7 separate regions of the Homo sapiens genome follow, and regions 1, 3, 4, 5, 6 and 7 are each linked to region 2. Evidence: promoter capture Hi-C in 16 types of primary human blood cells and fetal thymus (Javierre and others, 2016). All regions are on one chromosome and are shown on one strand. The core of a region is centred on a gene start or on the middle of the fragment in contact, and the rest is flanking DNA. Distances in the headings are between cores, read along the strand shown. Region 1 overlaps MEGF10 (multiple EGF like domains 10). Region 2 holds the start of PHAX (phosphorylated adaptor for RNA export). Region 3 overlaps MEGF10 (multiple EGF like domains 10). Region 4 has its middle 48 kb from the start of PRRC1. Region 5 overlaps MEGF10 (multiple EGF like domains 10). Region 6 overlaps LOC105379199. Region 7 has its middle 26 kb from the start of PRRC1.

Region 1 (2,933 bases), core at 177-2,676, 710 kb after region 2:
AGAGATTGAGAAAGAGAGCCCTTACCAGAAACCAAATTGGCTAGGACCTTGATCTTGGACTTCCTGCCTCCAGAACCATAAGAAATAAATTTCTACTGGCTAAGCCACCCTGTCTATGGTATTTTGTTAACAGCCTGAGCAGACGAAAACATTAAAAGAGTATTTGTGGACCTAATTTCAAGATTATTCAGAATTGTGGTGACATAAGAAAAACATGAAAAACTGAACCTAACCCACAGTCCTAATACTCATTTAAATGGATAATGTTGACTTTATTTCCTATCATACATTAGTGAGGCCAAAAGGTTACAGAATTTGTTGGTTAAAATTCCCCCAAGACTCATTTTTCCTCTAGAGGAGGTGCTAATGAGCAGTGAAATAGATCAAAACTAGTGAGAACCATCGTCGGAGAATATGAGGTAAGGAAAGAGTCTGGACAGTTTGTATTTCAGACTTTTAGTTATTGAACAATTGGCCTCATAGCTGTGTGTTCATAGGATGCACCCAGATTTGAGGGGGTGAAAGTGTGAGGGGAGGCTGAGTAGCAGAGGCCTGCCAGTGAGGAAACACTTCACCTAGCCTAGGAGACATGTGAGGTGGTTCCTTGCACCCAAGAGATCCTGCTTCCAGAAGAGTGATGACTGTGCCTGAACCCAGCCAAGGATTCAGGTGTGGAGAGTTCCTCACTATAGCTAAGCCAGATGGTCCACTTTTATTTTGGTGAAGGCCAACCTGAAGCAAAGGCACTTTTCTTCCGCCATTAAAAAAAACAACAAAGCAAAAACAGAGACAAAAAAGCTTGTGATGTGGAGCTCTGCCAAGCTAGGGCTGGAAAAAAAAGTCCCTTGCTTTCCTTCCAAGGCAGTATGTAAATGCTGTTTTGTTTGTGCAGCCACCGGGGATGGTTTAGAGTGCCTCACTAAAGTCCATGGCTGCTATAGAATCTGATTTTTATGATTATGAATATCCTATAAGCTAACCATCTAGGTCTAGTTGTCACCTCCCTGCACAATCATCTTTGGTTGAAGATATTGAATTATACTGCATTGCTATGAAAGCCAAATATCTTCAGAAAGTGATCACCTTAATCTGTTTATAGAAGCTCGAGCATGTGCTTATGTGTAGCTCTTTCCCTAAAGGACAGGACTCTGATCTTTCTGACTTTTTCTAGAGTTCAGGTGTGGCAGGCATTAACTGAGACATTAACTCTTCACCCAAGGAAGGTTTCTTGTAGCTTAACCTAAGGAGTTTTCTGCTTAGCTAGAGAATTTGGAAGACCATTTTTCATTTCTTGGCCAGGTTGTGCTATTTACAAAAATGAGGCCATGTAATTAGGGCCCCGGTGCCGTGTGGATCCATTCACTGGTACATAAGAGAGACTACAGTGTTTTCATGGGTTAGTGGCTGACTGTGCCCTCTCTGTTTCCTTTAATGGTGAATATGTCACTGCTGAGAAGGATGGCAACCAAGTCCTGACAGGCAGATTTTCAGAACAAAGTGTTAGTGAGTGAAGAAAGGTCTGTGCAAGCCAGGCGAGGTTTGTCACTGAGTTCTAAGGAACAGTTCTTTAAAAAAAACAAGCAACTTCCCAATCTGTGTCTAGGATTTGGATCCAGCATAAGTAAAACTCCAGGTAGAGCAAAACCCATTTAGCATATGCTGGGAACTACCATGCCCGTCTTCCATGGTGCACTTACAGAAATGAGGAGGGGACTGGGCCTCACAGCTTGGCTCCAGCTGCTGTGCCCCAGAAGAAAGAGCCATGTGCAGTGGCCATCCCATCCATTCACTGTGGCCCATCATTGTTGGCAGCTAAGCGAAGATGCTCGCGGGTGGTTAGCGCTGGGCCTCAGATTCCTTGTTGAAGGCCCAATGGGGAACCCATGGTTAGAGGAAAGAAGTCCAGGCGAAGCGGAGCTACCTAAGGAGAGACATGCTTTTAGGAGGTTTCGCTTCATTGACTCAGTTCAAGTTTTATCTTAAAGGTACTTTATGCTGGGTTGTGGGGGGTGGTGGAATCAGCCGAGTTTGAGATTCCAGCATTACTCATGAGCCAAGCTTAGCTGCCTGCTTTTAGAATTGCATTAACTTGAGGTAATTTTTTTAATGTTTTCTAATCCTGGAGCAAATGAAAATCATTGACAGTGATGCAGATTTCAAGGCCAATGTCACTAATCCATGAAAATGTTTGTTTTATTTTGCTTTGGCATGGCCTTGAATGAAACAACAACAAAGAAATCCTTCCGGAGTGAAAGGAGCACGCTTCTCCCCTAGAGTTCTGTTAGATAACCCAGAATACTAAAAAAAATACTGGCTCTGGAGCCTAAAGACCTTGCCTTGAGTTGTAGCTTTGCCACACCATATGATGTTAGACACCTGAAAAAACTCTTCTGTGCCTCAGTTTCTTTCTTCACAAGACAAAGAGATCAAAAAGTCCCTTCCCAACCCTGTGAACTTGACTAGGGAGCCTCTGGGGCCATGTCTGGGCTGTTGGGGTGCAGCTGAGTGGTGAGAATGGGGTGGGCAGGGTTCATCACTGGCAAAAGCTATGGCAGAGCCCCAGCTTCGCCTGGGCTAGATGTTTTGCCTGGCCACGGAGCTGCACACCGAATGGAAGTTATAAGACTGTGTGACTGAAAGTGTTTATTTTGAGGATGAATACTAATATCTAATATCTGTGGGGCAGCTGTTTCCCTGGGTGCTCTTCCTCTATGTTGGCTCATGGTGAGGGCACAGCCTAAAGAGCTCTACTGACATGTCTCTTCAAATACAACTTTAGCATAGTCTCAAAATTTCACTAACTTCAGACCAAATTCAAATTTTCTTCTATCCATGATGGAGATATTTTCTTCCAACCCACCATGATAGATCTTTGGGAACATGTATAAAAATTAATGTTGCTATCTTCTTTTATTTTGAACTTACAAATTTAA
Region 2 (2,700 bases), core at 139-2,638:
CAGATCTCTCCCACTGCCATAATTTTCTCACTGTTATAATTTTCGCAAAGGCGGGTTCCAAGATAACCCTTAAAGAATGGGGTGGGTTGAGGGAAGGGCCTCTCAGGCCGAGTGAACAGCAAATGCAGAGGCCTGGCCTGAGGAACAACAGGTTCAGCGCGCCAGCGGTTAGGCAGGGGGACACACTAGGACCAGTGACCAGATGCCCAGTCCACATGACCTTGTTTGCCATGTGGCAAAGTAAAACAGAGGTTCCTCTTCAAAAACTTTCCTCCCCGTCTAATTAGGAATAAATAGTAACTTCTCTTAAAAGCAAAATTTATTCAAAGATCTGTGCTAACATTCTTAAATATCTGCTAGCCATAATAAAAAAAAATGTACTTTATGTTCTTAGCTCCCACAATTTAGCCTAAATATTTGCCCTGGCATGCTTTTACTAGTCCAAGCAAGCATTAGGTCATAGCCTGTTCCTCTTCCTTATTTAAAAGTGTTTTCATCTTTCTCAGCATTCCACAAGTTACTTCCTCCTTCCTTTGTTCTCCTCTACCTTTGCCTCTTTTAAAAAGTTCTAAGTTGCTAGCCAATCGGGACAAATACAAAATGTGAGGTCCGGTCCAGCCAATAAAAACCAGCCACAGCAGTAAGGTAAACACGTCAGGTTATAAATGACCCTGTCTCCTTTTGTTCAGTGTACTCTCCTGGCAAAACTGCTGGCGAGTGTACCCTTTCTGCAGAAAGTAAAAATGGCCTTATTCAGTAAGTTAAATTTATGTTGCTATTTCTTTACGACACCGGAAAACAAACATTTCAAACACCATGCTGAGAACTCAGTCCTTGTTTTGGGGAGGGATGCACTTGGAAGATTCGAGCTAAGGTACAATCCTCCCTAGGTATCCGCGGGTCATTGTTTTCAGGACCCCCACAGATACCAACATCCGCCATGCTCAAGCCCCTTACATTATGTGGGGGTGCACGGTGGGTCCTTCCCATCCGCAGGTTCGGCATCCGTGGATGGGGAGTGGATACAGAGGGCGGACTATACAGCTTGAAAGGCTTCCCTGGAAGCAATATGTAGAGTGGATTGTGGAGGAGCAAGAACAGAAGCGGGGAGGCTTGTCCAGAGCATACAGGGGAAGGATGTACGGCCAAGGGAGGAATCCCAGACGACCGCGATACGTGACATATTTATGTTTGCACGAAAATAAAGTTTGGAAGAAAAGTGTTGGGGGAACAAGGGATTCATTTTCCCGGGGTAGTTGGAATGCAATGGGACGCCTCAGGCCGCTGGGACAGGCTGGCCTCCGCGCGGGGGCGCCCGAGCAGCCGAGCCGCCGGGCCTTCCGGCTGCCCCGCCGGAAGTGCTCTCCTGACCCGCCGCTGTGCAGCGCAGCGCACCGCGGGAAGATGGCGTTGGAGGTCGGCGATATGGAAGATGGGCAGCTTTCCGACTCGGATTCCGACATGACGGTCGCACCCAGCGACAGGCCGCTGCAATTGCCAGTGAGTGTGAAAGGAGGGTGGGTGATCGTGGCTGGGCGCGCGGAGCCTGGGCCCCGGGGAGCGCGCAGGCAGCGGTGAGGGTGAGGGGTGGGAGCTAGGAGCCCGGGCCAGAGCGAGGAGCCCAGGCTGTCGGGTCAGTGGCCGCAGAAGGGGCGAGCAGACGTCCCCCAGGCGGGCTCACGGAGCCCGGGCTGCGGGGGCCGAGGGGCGAGGGGCGACGGCGGCAGCGGCAGCGGCTGGCCGTGCGAACCCCGAACTGGCTGCTCCCTGCGAGGCGGGGCGCGCGAGCCCTGGCGCCTCCTGGAGGCCGGCTTGCGGCGGCCTCTTAGACGTCTCACCTCCGCCTACCGCTCTTTCTTTTCTAAACTTGGGGCTTCCCCACTCCATCGCCGCTAGGTAACCATAAAGGGGCAGATTTTGCCAAATATGTAGCATCTAGGGACATCAGCCTGAAACAGCCTGTGATGCTCATTTTCTCCCTGAGCCGAAGGGAGACTGAGGCCCAGGAATGAAGTTTATCGCTCACTCAAAGATCTGGTTTTCCATGTTTCCACCGAACCTAGCTTTGTCATGCGGTACCATGGCACTAGGCTTTTGCATTAGCCTCTCTGATTTTGTTTGTTGTTTTGAGGTGGTCTCACGCTGTTGCCCAGGCTGGAGTGCAGTGGCGCGATCTCGGCTCACTGCAACCTCCGCCTCCCGGGTTCAAGCGATTCTCCTGCCTCAGCCTCCCGAGTAGCTGGGATTACATGCGCCCGCTGCCACGCCCGGTTAATTTTTGTATTTTTGGTAGACGCGGGGTTTCACCATGTTGCCCAGGCTGGTCTCGAACTCCTGACCTCAAGTGATCGGCCTGCCTCGGCCTCCAAAAGTGCTGAGATTACAGGTGTGAACCACGGCGCCCGGCCACATCCAGCTAATTTTGTATTTTTAGTTGAGACGAGATTTCTCCATGTTGGTCAGGCTGGTCTCGAACTCCCAACCTCAGGTGATCCGCCCGCCTCGGCCTCCCAAAGTGTTGGGATTACAGGCGTGAGCCACCTCGCCCGGCCTAATTTTTGTATTTTTAGTAGAGACGGGGGTTCTCCATGTTGGCCAGGCTGGTCTTGAACTTCCGACCTCAAGTGATCCACCCGCCTCGGCCTCCCAAAGTGCTGGGACTACAGGCGCGAGCCACCGCGCCCGGCCCAGCTTCCCTGC
Region 3 (2,718 bases), core at 187-2,686, 750 kb after region 2:
GCCATATAATACGTTTTCCTTTATTTCTTCTTTTTAAAATTGGAATATTATGTTATTTTAGACTGGAATTAACAAAAAGCTTTCTTTTGGGAAAGGGAGTGCTACCTCTTGGAAGTGGCTGCCTGGAACATTGTGTTTAGAAGGATTCTGAGGCTGTGTCTGGGCTAAGAGAGAAAGAGCAAAGTGACTCACTAGTGATTTCTGCCACGGGATTGGAGTGGCAGTGGGTGGCCCGAGTGCGCCTCATTTGCCATCCCTGTATTTGACTGCATAGTATCCTGTGGCATTCTGGAATCATGGAGATAGCAACCGAGGCTCCTGAATCACACACCTGGCTAAAGGCTCCTGTTATACCTACCTCTGTCATTTAAGTGAGAAGTTATATTTACTGTTCTTGCTATTGTCCCCAGAAAAAAATTACCTTCCTTTGTGAGCTGGAATATTTGACATGCTTAACTCGGGATCATATTGTCAACAGTTTTGTGTTGGGGATGGGAAAGGATTTTCAATGGCTATGTTTTGCCTCAGTGTCAGCCACAGGGGGGTCTGATTAGGAGAGGGATTGGCAGGCTTGAGCAAATTGGGCACGGCTTCTGGGAAGAGCTGAACTGAAGATAGTTTCTTTCCCTACCTTACAATTATGTGAGGACACATTTAATTATTTATCCTGGCTTTGTATCATTTTGGTCTTTTCCTGCTGAAAAGTTTAGGGCCCAGATTCTTTAGGCTGAGAGGAGCTGCAGTGCAGGGAAGATGCCTTGTTTTGGGGTGAGAAGAGTTAGCCTTCGGCAGAGGTCTGTTTAGGGGAAAGCTAGGCTCCTTGGGTGGATTTGGGGAAGCAAAAGGAGAGCTTCAGGAAAGGAGGAGTACCTCTTATTGGAGTTTGAGGCAGACAGAGCCTTCTGTTTTGGATTTGTTTGATTCTCTCAGGCTTGTTTAATGATAAAATTGTGATCTTGTCAAATATTAAAAAAAAAACCATAGTCTTTTGATCCATTTAAGCAGATCCTTTCGAGTAGAGATAAAAGTGAGACAATCCTGTTAAGCTAGTCAAAGAGAGCCTGACTGACAACAATCAGATGGTATGTTCCCAAATATACCTACCCATGATGCCCTCCCTGCCACCGGCATTGAATTTTTTTCCTGTTTCCATAGGGACCCTGTACTCTGTTGCTATGGTGTCCGACGTGGTTCAGAGGAACCTACCAGTAAATACAGGGGAAGGCCTTTTGTCCACATACCGTGCCAGCAGAAATTCCAATTTTCCCACACATCTATCGGAACCTAAACTTCTGCTTTCCAGTTTGGGTCGTTGGTCTCTGCTAGCAGGGAAGATAGGAAATCTAATAAATAACAAGAAACCTTTGTTGCTTTACTGATTGACAATGCTTGCTCAGTGTTTAGGATTTTATAAATAGAAACTAAGAATTTAATTTTTAAAAAATCCACTATAAATTCAAGATAGCCTCAATCTAAACAGAAGGAGATCATATCTGCTGCCTATTTTTTTTTTTCTTGAGAAAGCCTGACTTTAGAGTCCCATGGAGACAGGGTCAAAAGGAAATAATGAAAAAATCCTTGCCTTATCTCTAGAAAATTAGTTCCTGAAATTGCAGTCTTTGCAGGACAGGTAGGATTTTTACAGGCCTAATAATTTATGCAATCCCCTTGCAGGGATAGAAAATGGCTAAAATAAAAGCCAAGAACTGAGAAGCAATTTTTATTGTACTATGGTTCAAATCTTTTCAGGGCAAAGTAATTTAAAAATAATGGAAAAAACACAGTTTGATCTAAGTGACCAACCACAAAACATTGACATGACCAGGTGGTGACAGAACTTGCATGTTTTTAGTCTGGTATAGCGCCGGCCAGCGCTTTTACAGATAATCCAGTGGTAAACCTAGTGCATCCATCTGGGCCACACACAAGAGATGCTAAAGGAGGGAGAGATTGATGCGCTGGTAGAATCAATGCTGCACTGACATTCTTCTTTCCTTTGGTTGTAGTAGTAGCCCAAGGTCCAGACCTATATTGCTTATTGATAACCAATTCTAAAAAAGGCTGGAAAAAAATCAGAGAGCTCCAAGAGAGTTAAGACAGAGAAACTCAGACTTCTTGATTCAAGTGACAGAAGGCAGCATTAGCTCAAGGTGGGCCTCCCTGACCGGCTGGCCACGTTGGAAGGGCAAAAGTGGTTATGGCAAGTTTAAAGATATGGCCATCAAAGTAATGTAGATTTAAGCTAAAAAACAATAGCTAAGTTAATTTATTGTACTTAGCATGAAATTGAGGGACATAAAAGGAAATATGCCACCATGAATGAAACATACATGTTGATCCAGGGAGGAGAATAGGTTTCCAGAAACTTGGATCCTAGGCATTATCTGTAGTTGAATCCCTCTAGTGTGAGATATGGAATACTCATCCTGCAGAATTCACTGTTGCATTATCCAGTTAGTTTGGGAAATGCAGTATGTTGGATCCCATTTCTTGAAGATTTGCTTCAGCCTATTAAAGGCTCTGGGAATGCCTGCAGTAAAGGCATGTCTCAAACTTTTTTGACCATGGAATTCCTTACTCCCTATACCCTCTTCCCTTTTCTTTCCCCAAGAACATAAGGGAAGAAATAGTTCTCTGGATCTACTTACTTGGAAAACACTGCTTTGAGGGATTTTGTTTTCTGTAAACATACACTGGGTAATTTTAAATATTTATAAT
Region 4 (2,700 bases), core at 123-2,622, 870 kb after region 2:
CCTCAGTGGTATGCTGGTAAATGTTGAAAAACCAACTCACTAAAAAATTTTTAAAAGCCAGATAATCACGCCTATAATCCCAGCACTCTGGGAGGCCAAGGCGGGCGGATCACTTGAAGTCAGGAGTTCAAGACCAGCCTGGCCAGCATGGTGAAACCCCATCTCTACTAAAAATGCAAAAATTAGCTGGGTGCAGTGGCGCATGCCTGTAGTCCCAGCTACTCGGGAAGCTGACACAGGAGAATCGCTTGAACCCAGGAGGTGGAGGCTGCAATGAGCCGAGACGGCACCACTGCACTCCAGCCTGGGCGACAGAGTGAGACTCCATCTCAAAAATAAAGTAAAATAATAAAATAAAATAAAATAAAATAAAATTAGAAGGCACTGATATGTAGCACCTAACTGTTCCTATAGTGTAAATCCTCCCACCGTGGGTAATTTCAAGCTTCCAACATGTCATCCCTGAATGCAGAGTAAGAAAGAGATGCTGAGTAGCTCACCATTATACAGCATTTTCACACTACAGATACAATAGATGCAACTAACCTCAAGGACATAGCTAATAGTAAAAGGTAGCAAATACTTTAATTTTTTTCTTTTTTCTTTTTTTTTTTTTTTTTTTGAGACAGGGTCTCACTCTGTCACTAGGCTGGAGTGCAGTGGTGTGATCACAGCTCACTGTGACCTGAACATCCTGGGCTCCAGTGATCCTCCCACATAGCTAGGATTACAGGTGTGCACCACTACCCTGGCTAATTTTTCTATTTTTTGTAGAGACAGGGTTTTACTATGTTGCCCAAGCTGGGCTCAAACTCCTGGGCTCAAGTGACTCACCAGCCTCGGCCTCCCAAAGTGCTAGGATTATAGGTGTGAGCCACCACACCTAGCTATAATAATTTTAATAATGGCTGTGTTTAACAAGTGGTTCGTGAAATTCTGGAAAATTTAACAATTGGCTCTCATAAGTCTGTATGAGCTGCCTCAGCACATTACTAGTTTACCACAACCTTGATTTCTGATTGTTCAAGCAGGGGTTACAAGGTCTCTACCCAAGCCACTGATATTGACTTATACCATAGAGGAGCTGGAAAGGAGCTGAGAGCAGCTTTTCTCCTACTTGTTCATTTTATGTCTAGGAAAATTGATGTCCACAGAGTTTATCCATTCAAGTAAGGAAAATGCCATGAACTGGGTCTCCTCAAGTGTATATATTTCTGATATACTCATTTTACCAGGAATAGATGATGGAAATTGGATTCCCTCTTTTGTTAATAGATCATCCAATGAATTATTTGGCCCTGGAGGAGTTCTATTCTCTAGTGGCTTTCCTGTGAAACACTGAGTTGGAGGATGACTTTACTAAAAGGTCCCAGATTCCCTTTAATATATAAACTCTTTGCATGAGGATTTATTTATGAATTGCCAATCAGAAAAAAAAATGCACTGATGCACAAAGCTATTTAATCAATTGTTTATAAGTATACACAGACAGTGTTCCTTAACTTTATTAGAGCCCACTGGAGACTTTTCCCAGGATGCATGCCTAATTAACAGAGGCCATTAAAAATAGACGACTATGTTATAAGAGCTCAGTTAACTGTTGTTTTCTTCATATTAGACTAGTTTTTAAAAGATTCACTTTCATCTTTTTACTCACTAATTAGCTGGGCATTGATAAATAGCAATGGTTGGCCTTTATCCTTGGTTTCAGCTGCAAATTAAGTAAAAATAAAGTGTACTGAATATTTTATTTTTACTGCAGGTAGATCTTACTTCTGGCAGAAAACAAACTAGAGTTAAGCCATTCAAAAAAGGTAATCTTAAAACACCAGAATGAAAGGCTAGATTTTTCTTACTTGCCTGCGATATTGAGAGAGACCCTTGACAGGCTCTGAAATGTTGGACTTCAGGAACGATGCATTATTTATAAAGTGGAGAAAGGGAGAAAACAGTGCAAGAAAAAAGATACAGAGGCTTACAATATTGCTCTTTTCCCTCTTAGAGAAAAGTATAAGATGATTGCCAATGAATACCCTTAAACCCAGAGTGAGGAACCATGTATATTAATTAATAGAAAAATGCCTTTTTGTTGTTAAAAGAGCATTTTTCCTTTGGTGAGAAAACTCACTTCTCTTTGACATCAGCACATGGTACATGTAAGATAGGTTCCCACTGAAAGTTTTTGATGGCGTGAGCCAATATAAAAACATTATGTAACTCACTAAATGTTTTAGACACTTTTAAGACAAAAATCAGTATTAAATATCATAAATATTAAGAAGCCACATTGCCATTAAGTGAAAGCTTAAAGACTAAGCACAATCTATTAAAACACTGTCATGCAACTTTACATACAGGCATATACCTCAGATATATTGCAGGTCCCAGATCACTGCAATAAAGATACTATCATAATAAAGTGAGTCACACAAATGTTTTGGTTTTCCAGTGTATATTAAAGTTATGTTTACACAATACTATAGCCTATTAAGTGTGCATTATGTGCATTATAGCATTATATCTAAAAATGAACATAATTAAAAATACTTTATTGCTAAAAACTGCTGAGCCTTCGACAAATCATCTTTTCGGTAGTTTACGATCTTACCTTAATGTGGATGGTAGCTGACTTATCAGGGTGGTTGTTGCTGAAGGTTGAAGTGGCTGAGATGTTTTCTAAATATAAGACAACAATGAAAT
Region 5 (2,700 bases), core at 124-2,623, 730 kb after region 2:
TGTTTTAATTTAACTTAGAGATATGTGAGAGAATCTTAGCGATATGTGAGTAGCAGAAAATGAGCTTGAGAAAAAACTGGTTGAGGGTACCGAAGTTATTTCTATGTGTGCACTTAATTGATTCTAGGAAGAAAATAGATTTTGGAGCCAAAAGGAATCATCTGGAATAATTTTCCCCTCTGTTGTTTCAAAAATAAATTAGTAAGTCAACACCCCATTATTTATTTCTCTTTAACTCAATGATAAAGAAACTACTGCTTATCATCAGAACTAAGACTCATCCATTGTAAGGATTTTATTCATCCTGATTATTTACTGAGGCTTTTGTGGTAGAATAAGCAAAGCTTGCCTTCCAAGTGGAGCTGCAAAACACAGACAGCAAGGGTTAACTCTGTGGGCTGTTTCCCTTTCTAATAGGAGCACTTTAGCAATGCTAATCAGTTGTACTGATTTTGTTTTGATTTTTCCATAATAATTAAGTGAATGATCTGAAATGCAATCAAGTTTGGCACTAGGGGGTTCATGCAAATGACTCTTTATTTTTTTACATTTTAAATTTTGTTAAACGGAATCATAAGGAAGTTATTTGAAGAGGAAGTCTGAGTGGGTGAGGGTAGCCAACACCCAATTTAGAGATTTGAATATATTCAAAATGTCTATCTTAATGAAGCAAATCACCACTGCATTGCCTTTGTTTTCAATTGAAATAATACTATTTTTAAAAAATTGCATTTTGTTTTCATTTGCATTCCAAAGTGGAAAATTATAAGACAGGATGACACAGCATAGAAGAGAGAAATGAGGAAGAATAAATTTACTGGACTTTCCTTCTTCAGAGTAGGCATAGTGGAAAAAGGGTACTCACTATGTTTACTCACCAAAACCTATAGAAGAAAACAAAGAAGATAGGGAAAAAGTAAATGAATGCCCTATCTGCTGCTTTTTTCTTTTCTTTTCTTTTCTTTTTTTTTTTTTTTTTGAGATAGAGTTTCACTCCTGTTGCCCAGGCTGGAGTGCAATGGCACGATCTTGGCTCATTGCAGCCTCCGCCTCCCAGGTTCAAGCAATTCTTCTGCCTCAGCCTCCCAAGTAGCTGGGATTATAGGCACCTGCCAGCATGCCTGGCTAATTTCTTCTAATTTTTAGTAGAGACAGGGTTTCACCATGTTGGCCAGGGTGGTTTCGAACTCCTGACCTCAGGTGATCCACCCGCCTCTGCCTCCCAAAGTGCTGGGATTACAGGAGTGAGCCACCACGCCTGGCCTAAATGTCCTATCAACTTCTGATTTTGATTGCATCTCAGTGCCTTTATTAAACAAGATAGAATGAAAGGACAATCCATGTTTCCTAATTTAGAGAAATGCTGTGTTTCTTAGTTCTCTACAGCTTATTGGCATATTTGTGAGATGTCTTCTCTCCTCATCGTCTATAACATCTGTGTTATTTTCTCAAACAGTTTTAACCAGCTTATGTGAATTTGCATGATCCTTGCCTCTTGATCAAACAATTCTTTTTGGTTTTTCAGACTATTCTAGAGCTCAGTTAATTTTCTAATTTTAATTAGGAAAACGTATTGGGACAAAGATACCAAGTAATACACACATACATCCACACATATACACACACACACATATTTTTCAATGTACTGATATTTTTTCTTTCAAAAATGGTACCTGCGACTTTTCAATGCAGTTTGATATTTCTGTATACTGAACTTCCAAAGCAATGAGAAGGTGGCCAAATTCTGCTTTTTCTCTGTCATCTCCTCTTCACAGGGCAATGCATCAGATACAAAGCAAGAAGAGAAACCAGAAGATTAGTGTCAATATTTTTACATTAAAATAAAACTCACAACCTCTTTCTTGTTCTGGGACTTTGATTCATGGCTTGGGACAATTTCTAACTTTATAGACTAAACATTTCTAATTGGTAAATGGATGGTTTGAGTCTGAGATGACTCAGGAAATAAACTTTCCAATTTGGGGTAATTGTTTATGAGTAGGTTACTGCTTACCAGCCTTCATGTCTTTGAGGAAAGAATGAAAGCTAAACACATTTCACACTTCGTTGAAGGGAAATACTTCTCACATAGATAAAGCAATGAGACAAGGAAATAATTGCCATGCTCATTTGTTACAGCCAAATATATTAAAGATTTTTTTGATGGATGAGGAAAACACTAGCTGTATATTACACGGCTTCAACTGTAAAACAGGGACAATAAAAACTACTACTTCTTAGTTAAGTTGCTGTAAGGATTACATAGATAATTCACATAAATGGCTCAGTACTGTGTCTGGCACACAGTAATCGGTCAGGAAATGTTATCTGTTATTGTTTATTATTATCATCATCATTTTTTATTCATTCCCCTTAAATGAAATAGCTTCTTTATATAATGTTAAGCTTCAGATTTTACAACTTCATGATGCATGTGAGAAATGTCAATAATTTGAATTAATCTATAAGTTAATTTTGGTTAACTATTTACGCTTTATCTATTGGAATTATTTAGTGACCATTGAAATATCCTTTTTAAGATTTTACAGCTTCTTTAATGGCTTACACAATATCTTTTAATTATACTACAAATTCATGATTTTTTCCTTATTCCAAGTCAAACATTTTCTTTTAGCCTTTGTTGAGTCAGCAATAGGTAACTTGTCATAGTATACTTAAAGAATCTTGATTTTGAAGAAT
Region 6 (2,700 bases), core at 153-2,652, 680 kb after region 2:
TCCCTTGTTTACCATATTATAACCATATAAACATAACTATCTTTTTCTTAGTGTAGTCAAAGCACTGCACTTAGTGAAACAACCTTCTGTTGTTTTCATGTCAGTGACATTCCAGAGTGTGAAGACTCCGAGGTAAATTAATGTACAAGAAATGTAAGGAAAGGCTCTGCCAGAGCACTTGCTCTTCACCTGTGTAAACACATCATGACCATTTAAGGCTGTAAACCGTAGGATATAGTATTAATATCCCAGAGGGTAGTTGGGTAAATAACAAGGCAGGCTAATATGAATTCCCTGGGTTTAAAGAAAAATTAAAGCCTTGATTAATTAATTCATTATGTGCAGCTTCTCCTCCCTTCCTTTACTTTTATAGCAGGAGTGAGATAATTATTATAATCTGAGAGATAAGCCTGCTTCAACTGAGAGCTGTGTTTGGGCAACTCTGTGGTTTGGGCAAATGGATTAAGTGACTTAATAAATTCATATTCAGAAGACTGTGATGTTAAAAAGAATTTCCTACTTAGGAAAGATAATTTCCAAGTGGAAAACAAAAATCCTCTACTGAGTTATAAAACTTTTGTTTAAAATATATTCATTATATTTGAGAATTGCTATGCATGAGGACATCTCTTCATGCTTGAGATACATCAGTACACAAAATAGGCAAAGATTAAGAAGTTTTTATTTTAGTGGGAGAAAGACATAGCAAACAATAAACATAATGAATAAGTAAATTATATAGGATAGTAGAAGGTGAAAAGTGGTATTAAAAAAGAAAAGGTAGAGCATGGTAAAGGGGATCAGGTGTGTTGGGGAAGGGGTGATGGGCTACAATACTGAATAAGAAGGCTCATTGAGAAGATGAAATTTGAGTAAGATGTGTAGGAGATCAGGGAGCAAGCCACACATTCCAGGCAGAGGGAACTGCAAGGGCTCTAAGGTAGAAGTCAGTCTGGTGTATTTGAATAAAAGCAAGGGGACCAAAGTATCTGAAGTATAGAGCAAGAGGAGAGCAAAGTATCTGAAGTATAGAGCAAGAGGAGAGCAGAAGATAAAACCAAGAAGCACTGAGAGTAGTGGATACCATGTGCGCTTCAGGACCAAGGCACTCATTTCCCCAGGTGCAAGAGTTTTTGGATGTAGATGGCTCCTAGCTCAGTTCCTCATCTGGAATTGCCTTCAACAGAAAAGAACTTCATTTGCAAGGTTATGCTCTCTCCTGGGAGCAGACCACATCCAAAGACTGTCATTGAGGGAGTATAGGAGTTGGGTGCTCTTGCCTCAATTCAGGCCAGCTCTGTGGGCCTATTGTAACTGTATCACAGTCCACTGGTCCTTCTGCCGAATTCTGCTTTCCTCACTTCCTTACAAGTGTTACTCCTGAGAGCAAACCCAAGAAACCTCCTGCTTACAAATCTCCATCTCAGAGTCCATTTTCTGGAGAACAAGACTTGAAACAGAGGCACTGTGAACACTTTGACTCTAAGATGGGAGAACATGGGGGCTAGAGTAAGAGAGAAACATGATCTAACTTATGTTTTAACAAGATAACTTTAGCTGTGGCACTGGGAGTGGTTGGTGGAGGGTTAAGGTCAGAAACAGGGAGAACAATAAAGAGACCACTGCATTAATTCAGGGGTAATGATGAAGGTCTGGAGTAGGTTGGTGAATGTATTTTGAAGGTAGAGCCTACAGAATTTGCTTATAGTTTGAATGGAGGGTGTGAGAGAAAGAGCAGCTCAAGGATGACACCAAGGTTTTTGATATAAGCAAATGAAAGGAAAAAGATGCCATTTGCTGAGATGGAGATGACAAGGATGAATTTGGGAAGGGCAGACTGTTGGGGGAAAATTAGGAGTTGGGTTTTGAACATATTAATTTTGAGATGCACATCTGTGAACCAAGTGGTGATGTCCAGGAGGCAGCTGGGCAGAGGTCAAGCCTGAAGATCTATATTTAGGAGTGGTCAGTAAAGGAATGGTATTTATAGTTCTGAGCCTGAATGAGATAGTTTATGGAGTTATTGTAGCTAGAAAAGAAAAGTGATCCAATGACTGAGACCTGGGCACTTCAAAATTTAGAGGTTGGAAAGATGTGAAGAAACCAACAAAGGTAACACAGAAGGAGCCACCAGAGAGAAAAAGGGAAAACTATAAAAAGTCTGGTATCCAGGATATCAAGTCAAGGAAGATATTCAATGAAGGGAAGAGAAAAATGTTTCTGACAATTGGTTTCAGCAAATTGGATCTCATTTGATTACCTTGAAAAAAAAAAGAGAGCAGTATTAAATTGAGGGTTGGGGCCAAAACCCTGATTAGAGGAGATTTAAGAGAGAATAGAAGGAAAATATATGATACTAAGTTTAGAAATTTAATTCAAGGAGTTTACAGTGAAGAGAATAGCTGTAGGAGGAGAACCAAACAGAGTTCTTTTTTTAAGTGGAAGAAATATTTGTGAATGCTGATGGGAATACTCTTGTTGAGAGGAGAGAATTAATAATGCAGGAAAGACAGGGAGAAATCCACGTCATTTGGGAGGCCCAAGGGAAAGAATTTAGTGCATAAGTGAGGAGGACAGCCTTAAATGAGAGTGTGGTCAATTCATCAGGAGGGAAGACAAAGCACACGACCAGACATGAAGGTGGATGACCAGCTGTAGTTGCAGAAGTTTGTGGAGATTCTTCTCTAATTGCTTCAGTTT
Region 7 (2,700 bases), core at 82-2,581, 890 kb after region 2:
AATAGACAGGCTAGGCTTGCTCCTTTTCCTCATAAGCCTACACATGAAAGTTTTGATTTTTAAGCTTCTTGTATGACTTTATGAAAATTAACTTATTCAGTGAAGTATACCTATAAAATATAGAAATAAAATCAATGCAGAGTGGAATTAGTGATGGTGCAAAAAGGAAATATAAAAAATTAGATTAATCCAATTGAGAATGAGAAAGAAGGAAAAAGAAGCATAGAAAGCTGGTAGAGATAAAAAGCACAAAATAAGATTATAGAAATAAATCTAAAATAAAAATAAAAATAATAAAATGAATTAAACTTTCCAGATAAAAGACAAAGAGTTTTATATTGTGTAAAATAACAAAACCCAGCTCTGTGCTATTTAAAAGACGTACTCAAAAGGGCCAGGTGCAACGGCTCACGACTGTAATCCCAGCACTTTGGGAGGCCAAGGCTGGCAGATCACCTGAGGCCAGTAGTTTGAGACCAGCCTGGCCAACAAGGTGCAACCCTGTCTCTCCTAAAAATACAAAAATTGTGTACCTAAAATTTAATTGAAAGGGAAATATAAATACATATGTTAGGGGAAAAAATTGCCTGTATAGAGTAAGGATTTAACCTTTGCTAAATGCCAGGAGGCAGAGGTTGCACTGAGCTGAGATAGTGCCACTGCACTCCAGACAGAGCAAGACTCCATCTAAAAAAAACAAAAAAAAACACATACTTAAAGCATAATGGTGCAGAAAAATAGAAACTTCAAAGATGGAAAAGCAAACACTAACCAAAAGAAGATGGTTGTTATTACATTAATTTCAAACAAAATAGACTGTAAGGCAAAAGATTTATTAGGGACAACCAAATTCCAACATGTGGCTAAATAAACAATTTACCCGTAAGCCATAATTCTGAACCCATGTGAACAAGATAGCTTCAAACTATGTAAAGAAAATTTGAAGAATTTCGAGAAAAAGTAGAAAATGTCAAACATTGGGAAAAGTATACACATTTAAAAAATCGAATTAACCATCTTGGGCTAATGTGTGTGTGTGTGTGTGTGTGTGTGTGTGTGTGTACATAGCATAGATATAGGAATAGATATGGATAAGAATGTGGCTATATTTGTTTGTATCCTTATACATGGTATATTGAACTATCAAGCTTGTTGCAAAGTGCAAGGAGAAACTAACTAATCTTTCAACTTCTAAAGACTTTGCTCCTGAATGAAATATTGACAAGTTTTATAGCTCTTCTAATCATTTTCATGTGATAAAATACAGCATAGTCAAATATAAACCCTACATTCTCATCCAATTTTAGATGATTCTCCTTCCCCAGCTCAGCTCACATGGGTTCAAAAACTTACAACGAGAAAGCAGGACGTGGTTGGCTTCTTTCCTCTTTCTTCGTACACCCCCTTCTCACTTGCTGGATGTGCTTTTGGTCAATGGGAAGAGAAGGAAGGATATAAAAGGGGCATTAAGGAGAAAACAATTTTTCAAGGCTCACAGGGTCACAATCTGGTATGAAGCTTTGCTTTGTATTCCACACGCAGTGCTCTTTCTTTTAAAGGCAGTTTTGTAAAAAACTGTGAAAGATCCCGCAGTATTGCTCATGCATACAGCTTACAAACCCTAAGCTTAGCTACTAGATTCTAGCAGCTCACCCTACTGTTGTGGCTACCTATTCTTCTAAGTAATACTTTTAGGTAGTATGTCCCTCCCAAGTAGCCATAAAATCTTGAGAGAAATGTACATTCACTTTTGCCCTAACAGACTATGAAAGTGCAGTCCATTTCTAAGCAGATCACTTTGGCTCTAACTTTTAGAATATATTTACTCATGAACCCCATACCAATTACTGTGTCCTCAAATTCTAGGGAGCATCTGTCTTGCTCTTTGATTGTTTCTGTCAATATATGTCCCTGGCTGGGATTAAAATGAGAGTAGCATTAGCGCCACATCTAGATGGAGACGAGAAACATCATGATTCTCCAATTTTCTCTTTAAAGAAATACTGTACTTCTTTTCTTCATCTTTATCATCCCATAACCAATTCTCTAGCCTGGTTTCATACAGCATTTGAAGCGAAGGATGATTTAAGTTTTGTAAACCCAGTCTCACATTATCTTAGAATGCCCAGCAAACATGCACATTGAGAAGCTGAGACTTTAGCTGAAACATCAAGATAACAAAAAAGTCACAGCTAAAATCTTCTCTTTCTCTTACACATGCGCACACACACACACACACACACCTACCTGCACCCAAAATTTGAGCCTTAAAAAAAAACCAAACATAATGTAGACCCATTCTTGTATCTCAATGTAACAAAATTAGAAATCAAAAAATAAAGATAAAATCCTCATACAATTGGAAAGTTTAAAACACAGTTTTAAATAAGTCATAAATCAAAGAAGATAATGGAAATTAAAAAATAATTAGAACAGAATTACCAAAAAATCCCTGTGGATCAAAATTTGTATACCTAAAATTTAATTTAAACTAAAATATAATTACATGGGGAAAATTGCCTATATAGAGTAAGGATTTAACCTTTACTAAATGCCAGTAAGATGTTGCTTATAGATTTTGTTGTATTAGATCATGTATATTCTTTGTGTCTTTTTAGAAAGCAATTCATTCCTTTTAAAAAATTTTAATTTATGAGAATCTCTAAAGTAATTTCTTATTCTTCACATGGTTATAATGAA

Evidence for each region. Contacts are between HindIII fragments. The CHiCAGO score rates a contact against its expected background, and 5 or more counts as called.
Region 1: a fragment that was not itself captured here is called in contact with the fragment with the promoter of PHAX in region 2 in 2 of 17 cell types (monocytes and erythroblasts); the score reaches 5.7 in monocytes.
Region 3: a fragment that was not itself captured here is called in contact with the fragment with the promoter of PHAX in region 2 in 1 of 17 cell types (erythroblasts); the score reaches 5.5 in erythroblasts.
Region 4: a contact is called between a fragment that was not itself captured here and the fragment with the promoter of PHAX in region 2, in 1 of 17 cell types (erythroblasts). The highest score is 5.4, in erythroblasts.
Region 5: a contact is called between a fragment that was not itself captured here and the fragment with the promoter of PHAX in region 2, in 1 of 17 cell types (monocytes). The highest score is 6.6, in monocytes.
Region 6: a fragment that was not itself captured here is called in contact with the fragment with the promoter of PHAX in region 2 in 1 of 17 cell types (neutrophils); the score reaches 5.8 in neutrophils.
Region 7: a contact is called between a fragment that was not itself captured here and the fragment with the promoter of PHAX in region 2, in 1 of 17 cell types (erythroblasts). The highest score is 5.8, in erythroblasts.

The regions. Positions count from the first base shown.
Region 1 is chr5:127,304,848-127,307,780 of GRCh38, forward strand. The region is part of intron 1 of MEGF10 (multiple EGF like domains 10); the gene reads left to right. Among named protein-coding and RNA genes, the nearest start is that of MEGF10, 16 kb to the left of the region's middle. The HindIII fragment of the contact is 1,260 bases long and covers 797-2,056 here.
Region 2 is chr5:126,599,559-126,602,258 of GRCh38, forward strand. PHAX (phosphorylated adaptor for RNA export) reads left to right here and starts at 1,389. Exons shown (of 5, transcript NM_032177.4): 1 at 1,389-1,500. The coding sequence starts at 1,405. RefSeq lists enhancers at 471-1,320, 1,321-2,168, 2,169-2,700 and silencers at 1,227-1,436, 1,557-1,806. The HindIII fragment of the contact is 34,757 bases long and covers 1-2,700 here.
Region 3 is chr5:127,354,347-127,357,064 of GRCh38, forward strand. The region is part of intron 4 of MEGF10 (multiple EGF like domains 10); the gene reads left to right. Among named protein-coding and RNA genes, the nearest start is that of MEGF10, 65 kb to the left of the region's middle. The HindIII fragment of the contact is 2,718 bases long and covers 78-2,718 here.
Region 4 is chr5:127,468,312-127,471,011 of GRCh38, forward strand. No RefSeq gene overlaps it. Among named protein-coding and RNA genes, the nearest start is that of PRRC1, 48 kb to the right of the region's middle. The HindIII fragment of the contact is 1,859 bases long and covers 444-2,302 here.
Region 5 is chr5:127,326,753-127,329,452 of GRCh38, forward strand. All of the region lies in intron 1 of MEGF10 (multiple EGF like domains 10), which reads left to right. Among named protein-coding and RNA genes, the nearest start is that of MEGF10, 37 kb to the left of the region's middle. The HindIII fragment of the contact is 2,062 bases long and covers 343-2,404 here.
Region 6 is chr5:127,276,064-127,278,763 of GRCh38, forward strand. The region is part of intron 2 of LOC105379199; the gene reads right to left. It also overlaps a transcript of MEGF10 not described here. Among named protein-coding and RNA genes, the nearest start is that of MEGF10, 13 kb to the right of the region's middle. The HindIII fragment of the contact is 4,674 bases long and covers 1-2,700 here.
Region 7 is chr5:127,489,964-127,492,663 of GRCh38, forward strand. No RefSeq gene overlaps it. Among named protein-coding and RNA genes, the nearest start is that of PRRC1, 26 kb to the right of the region's middle. The HindIII fragment of the contact is 370 bases long and covers 1,147-1,516 here.